Linked DNA regions of Homo sapiens: region 2 is linked to region 1. The links are contacts of gene promoters, found by promoter capture Hi-C in human tissues and cell types (Jung and others, 2019). All regions are on one chromosome and are shown on one strand. The core of a region is centred on a gene start or on the middle of the fragment in contact, and the rest is flanking DNA. Distances in the headings are between cores, read along the strand shown. Region 1 holds the start of PTPRCAP (protein tyrosine phosphatase receptor type C associated protein). Region 2 overlaps KDM2A (lysine demethylase 2A).

Region 1 (2,919 bases), core at 1-2,500:
GATCTGTACCCCGACACAGCCGGGCCCGAGGCAGCCCTGGAGGCTGAGGAGTGGGTGAGCGGGCGGGATGCCGACCCGATCCTCATCTCACTGCGGGAGGCCTACGTGCCCAGCAAGCAGCGGGACCTGAAGATCAGCCGGCGCAACGTGTTGTCTGACAGCCGGCCCGCCATGGCCCCGGGCTCCTCCCACCTAGGGGCCCCCGCCTCCACCACCACTGCTGCTGATGCCACCCCCAGCGGCAGCCTGGCCAGAGCCGGGGTATGCACGCGCAGGCAGGGGTGGTGCTGGGAGCCCCAGGTGTGGCCCTGGCCTGCTGTGTGGGCTTCAGCCATTCGCTGTCCCTCTCTGGGGTAGTGGTGGGTTTGGGAGGGCTATGGCTTAGCAGCCCCTGACCACCGCCCCCTACCCCTGCTTCATGTCCCCACAGGAGGCTGGGAAGCTGGAGGAGGTGATGCAGGAGCTGCGGGCCCTGAGGGCGCTGGTCAAGGAGCAGGGCGACCGCATCTGCCGCCTGGAGGAGCAGCTGGGCCGCATGGAGAACGGGGATGCGTAGGGCCACAGCCACACGCCACCTTCATCTCCTCCGCCGCCCCCTTCCCACTCAGCTTCTGCCAGCGGGTCGCACCGGGCTAGCTGGCTGCCCAGAGCCTCTGAGGCAGCGCAGGGGTCAGTTCCCACCCCCACCCGTCCCAGGCCCAGGCCGAAGCCAGCGCCCAGCTTTCCTCACTGTTCCTGTGGAGGATGTCTACGCCCAGGCGAGCTCCTCGACCTCTGAGGGACCATCTCCCCGACCACTGCCCAGCCCTCTGCTCCCTCCCCAGAGGAGGCGGGAGGGTGGGCTCTATATTTTCATTCCAAATAAAATTCTCTTTCTAAAAGCCAGGCTGACCTGCTGCTGCAAGGGTGGGGCTGAGAAGTCTGGAAACCTGGAGACAGAGGATGTCACAGGAGTCACACATGTGCAGAAGGTCTGGGGGCAGTGAGCAGCCCCACAGGCATTGCTCCCCTGGATTGTCAGGCAGGGAAACTGAGGCAGAAGACCTGAGAACACATGCAAGGCTGCATCCAGCTTCAAGTTGGTGCTGCTTCTTCCTTGGAGGACAGGCCCGGCAGCCCAGCCTCCTCCAGAGAGACTGGGGAGGGTCTGGTGTGGACCAGGGGTCCTGCAGCAGGGAGGGGCAGGTGGGGTATGTGGGCAGGAAGCGGAAGCCTGGGCCACCCTTCACTGCAGACGAGCACTGAGCTCACTTCTCGCTCGACACAGCCAGAGCTGGAGGTGGGTGCCCGGCACGGAGGGGCCTGCGGACCAATGGTAAGCCTCGGAGCCCCCCGGGTTCTTGGGATGGGGGCCACAGGCGGTCGGGGCTAGAATGTCTGGGCCTGTGGAGCTAAGGAGGGCCCCACATTGGCCCCAGGGAAGAGGTGAGACCTAAGAGGAGTATGGCAGAGGCTGAACCTTTCTCTCACCTGAGCTGGGCTCCCTGGGACTCCAGGCCTGGCCCCCAGCACCCCATACCGGACCAGGCCCCTGTCAGGAGCCCTGGGAAGGCCCTTACCTGGTCTTCCTGTGAGCGGGAACTTGCATTCCTGGAGCCTGGGCGGACAGCCTGGGGTGGTGGGGGAGGCTGGCTGCACCTCAGCACCCCTCCCCCGACACCCCCCACCTAGCCTGTTCCGACCGCAGACTTCCTCTGGCAGCTGCGCCCGCCTCCCCCAGCCCCCCCCAGCCCCCGGCCCTGCACGCCTGTGGCCCTCAGGGACTGGGAGTGGAACGGAAACCCTGCCGCTGGGGCAGCCCCGTGGTGGGGAGGGAGGAAGAGGGGCCTCACGGACCCCCGTTTGGGGACCTGGCCAAGCAGAAGATGAGCAGTTGCCTCTGGGTGCATCCAGGCCCCTCCATCCCCCATCCCAGGCCTCAGGGAGAGCCAGCCCTGACACCAGCTAGCAACCTCCTTCCCTCCCTCCCATCTCCTCTCCCACCCACCCAGGCAGCCTAGACACATTTAATCCATACTTATTGAGCACCTACTAACATGCTTGACCCAAAAAGCCCCCGTTTCCTAGCAGCTTATTGTGGGGGGTAGATAAGACAATAGACATAAAAAATGAGTACAGTTATCTCCTGCGTTAGGTGACATGGAAGGAAAAAGGCACTGAGTGCTGGGGGGTGCTGGGGTGGGCTGCAGTGATAGACATCAGGGTAGAGGTTAAGGTCAGGTTCAGCCTCACTGGGGTGAAGTTTGAGCACGGTGAGCAGGCCATGCAGCCCGGGGGAGGGGAGGATGGGAGGAGGTGGAGCTTTCCGGGCAGAGGGAACAGCCAGTGCGAAGGCCCCAGGCAGGTGGCTTAATGCAGCTGTTGGGGGAGGTGAGTGGTAGGGAGGAGGCTGGAGGGATGGGGGCTGATCTCACAGGGCCAGAGCCTGGTTGACCAAATAAGGCCTTGGCCTTTTCTGCTTGGCTGTCCCAAGAGGATCCCAAAGAGAAAAAAACGAAAGTGGTCTTGGTCACCCAGCCTGCCCCACACCAGGCCCCACCCCAGGTGCTGAGCCCTCTGAGCCCCTGCCTGTCTCCCACAGGCTCTGCCCTGCACCTTAGGGCTCGGGATGCTGCTGGCCCTGCCAGGGGCCTTGGGCTCGGGTGGCAGCGCGGAGGACAGCGTGGGCTCCAGCTCTGTCACCGTTGTCCTGCTGCTGCTGCTGCTCCTACTGCTGGCCACTGGCCTAGCACTGGCCTGGCGCCGCCTCAGCCGTGACTCAGGGGGCTACTACCACCCGGCCCGCCTAGGTGCCGCGCTGTGGGGCCGCACGCGGCGCCTGCTCTGGGCCAGCCCCCCAGGTCGCTGGCTGCAGGCCCGAGCTGAGCTGGGGTCCACAGACAATGACCTTGAGCGACAGGAGGATGAGCAGGACACAGA
Region 2 (2,919 bases), core at 309-2,808, 200 kb after region 1:
ATAGTTACACGCACCCCAAACCAGAAAGGGTTTGCCGATCGACCCCCTGACCTTTCGTTTCCCGTCGCTCTGGAGCTGCCGAGGCTCTTGGTGAAGTTTCCCCAGCGTCTTTGTTTTGTTTTCTGTACTGGAAGTTCTCCTGAAGGAGTTAGATATTCTGCCTCTGGGAAAATCCGGATTTACTTGAATATTCTGGAATCTCCCAGAGCACATAGGGCAGGGCAGTCCAGCTCTGACCCTTCAGACTACCCAGAGGGAGCAGCGTGCAGCGCTCTGGGCTCCTTCTCGAGCCCTTCAGCTCAGCCGCGGCTTCCTGTGCCTGCGAACAATGCTGCTGCGTCACCCACATGCAGCTCCCAGAAATGCTTTGCAACGGAAGATGGCAGGAGGGGGAGCCGAGCGAGAGTGAGCGAGCCAGGCAGAGGGCCCAGCCGTTCTGCTGCAGAGCCGGGAGGGGGTGTGTTCAGCAACTGCTTTCTTCCTCGCGATTGGAAGAGGCCCTGCCAGGGAGGAGAGCTCAGCCACAGCCCCCGCCCTGTCTCCCTCCCACCACCACTGCAATAGGAGAACCTAGGGCCAGCCCCCTGAGGGCTCCCGGTGGCAGACTTCTGAAGGCGCCAGCCAAAGGGAAGGCTTTAACTCATTCTGCGGGCTACACTAGGCACCTTGGCCCACATTTGTCCTTGTTTCAGTCCACACCCTTCCCCTCAGGGTCACCTCTCACTGTTACCACTGTTACTGCCAGAGCTCTCTGGCTGACTGCACACACACTTCTCTCTCCCCTCTCAGCAAGTAGAGGGGGTCGCCCAAAGTTCCGCCTCTCTGGATGAACTAGGCACAGGAGCTGAGTTCCTCTTGAGTTATCTTCTCTCTCCGGCACACTGCCTGCTTCACCTGCCCTCGCTGACTTGCTCCCAGCCCACAATCCAGAATCTGCCTATGTGTTCCAAAAAACCTTCAGAAATGGCCCATGTCAGCCAATATTGAGATATTCAATAAAATACGGCTAACATCAACTACATCTAAAACAGATGCCTGCTTCTGATTCTGACAAGGACTCCACCCCCACAGTACAGTACTAGAAATGTCTGCGCAGCAATCCTGCAGCAGTTCCACCGTGACCAAGTCAAACAACTGAGGCACAACACACTTTGCCCTCCTGCCTCTAAACAAGGTGCAGGAAGCCAGGGAACACACATTCTCCCAATTCCAGCAGTCTCCTCTGCCTGTAAGATTATCCTACCCTCAGAATACCAGTATTGTACTCTTGGATTTCCATTTCTATTCAAGTCTGTTTGCCTGTCTCATTCTTGATATTCCCCAGATGAAGCAGCCAGTCCTGCATCCTGTCAAGACACCTCACTGCCTTCTCACAGCCACTCGGACTGACAAGTATTGCTCACACCTCTGCACAACAAACCCTGATCCCCGGATCCCCAGCTGGGATGAAGCTCAGACTGAACACACACTCCTTTCAGTCTACAGGAGGAAAGGAGGGTGCACACTCTGGTTGAGTTTCTAGTGATCCACAGTGTACCAAACATCAGCATGGGAGAACCTGAGTAGGAATCAAATACTTAGCAGAAACAGTTTGGGTCTTTTTTAGAGCCAATGTGATTTTTATGTGACTTTTAGACCCTTACAAATGTATAACTTGCCTTTTTTGCAGATGCTCTGATTTAAGCATCTAGCTCTTAAGCATTCTTATTTATTTCCAGGACAGTTGTTTGAGTGAGTTTCTGGTACAGATTTAGTGGCTAACTAGGCTTTCTAAAGTCTGGAGCTTTGCTGCCAGGGGCTACATATGTTATTTTTATAGTAGTTTACCAGGGGAAGGACAGACTTTTGTGCTCTCGGCTGAGCTTCTCCTGGAAATGCTTATATGGTCATCCTAACCCTAAACTTCTCCCGGACACTGTATCTTAAGACTCAAGACCCACTGCAATCGGCTTATTTTGTTTGAAAGGCTTTCCTTAACAGTGATCTAGCTATTGAGAGGTCTTCTTGGAAAATGCTTATTTTGATCTTCAGTGCTATCTATATTATAGAGATAGTAAAGTATGAATACTTAAGAGAAAACATATTACTTTAAAACAAACGTAAGTTCAAGTTGCAGCAAGTGCAAATTCTAGAGGCCACCAGGAAAGGAAAAAAATCACATCGGGCACTAGGAAACTCACTCCCAGTAAGTTTCCAAATCACAAATTAAACAAGGCCTAACTTTACCCCCTCCTGCTAATTGAGAATAAAAGATAGGCAAAAAAGATAAGAATTACTAAGACCATGACATTACATAATACAAGAATATAAGGAAAATATTTAAAATAATTATATGTAACTTTAAGCATATATGCCTCATAACTGAGTTACATTACTTAAAACTTTCTATTCAGTAAGAATGTATGAATTATTACAAATATCTTGTTAGTAAATATTGCAAATAAAGTTTTATTTGTATAAATAAATATATCCTATAACAGGATATAAATTTTTTTTTTTTTCAGACAGGGTCTCGCTTTGTTGCCCAGGCTAAAGTGCAGTGGTAGATGACAGCTTACTACAGCCTAGACCTCAGCCTCCTGAGTAGCTGGGACTACAGGTGCACAATACCATGCTCAGCTAATTTCTTAATTTTTTTGAAGATGGAGTCTCACTATGTTGCCCAGGCTGGTCTTGAACTCCTGGCCTTAAGTGATCCTCCTGCTTCAGCCTCCCAAAGTGCTGGAATTATAGGCATGAGCTAACACATCTGGCCTAGGTTGCTTTACAAAAAAAAATCTGTAAGCCTGGACCCAGGACAAACAAACAAACAAAAAGCTGAGTTGGTTGGGTAAGGTGGCTCATGCCTGTAATCCTAGCACTTGGGAGGTCGAGGCAGGAGGATTGCTCAAGGCAAGGAGTTCAAGATTCAAGACCAGC

The links. Contacts are between HindIII fragments. The study calls those that stand out against the background at their distance.
Region 2: a fragment that was not itself captured here is called in contact with the fragment with the promoter of PTPRCAP in region 1 in 1 of the 25 tissues and cell types used here (hippocampus).

What each region holds. Positions count from the first base shown.
Region 1 is chr11:67,436,013-67,438,931 of GRCh38, reverse strand. PTPRCAP (protein tyrosine phosphatase receptor type C associated protein) reads left to right here and starts at 1,250. Exons shown (of 2, transcript NM_005608.3): 1 at 1,250-1,315; 2 at 2,582-2,919. The coding sequence starts at 1,313. It overlaps CORO1B (coronin 1B), which reads left to right. Exons shown (of 11, transcript NM_020441.3): 10 at 1-261; 11 at 431-2,919. The coding sequence ends at 556. RefSeq lists enhancers at 1-232, 233-765, 766-1,298, 1,299-1,831, 2,147-2,206 and 1 more and silencers at 167-306, 1,557-1,926. The HindIII fragment of the contact is 14,275 bases long and covers 1-2,919 here.
Region 2 is chr11:67,237,502-67,240,420 of GRCh38, reverse strand. All of the region lies in intron 12 of KDM2A (lysine demethylase 2A), which reads right to left. Among named protein-coding and RNA genes, the nearest start is that of GRK2, 28 kb to the left of the region's middle. RefSeq lists enhancers at 50-129, 320-379. The HindIII fragment of the contact is 7,033 bases long and covers 1-2,919 here.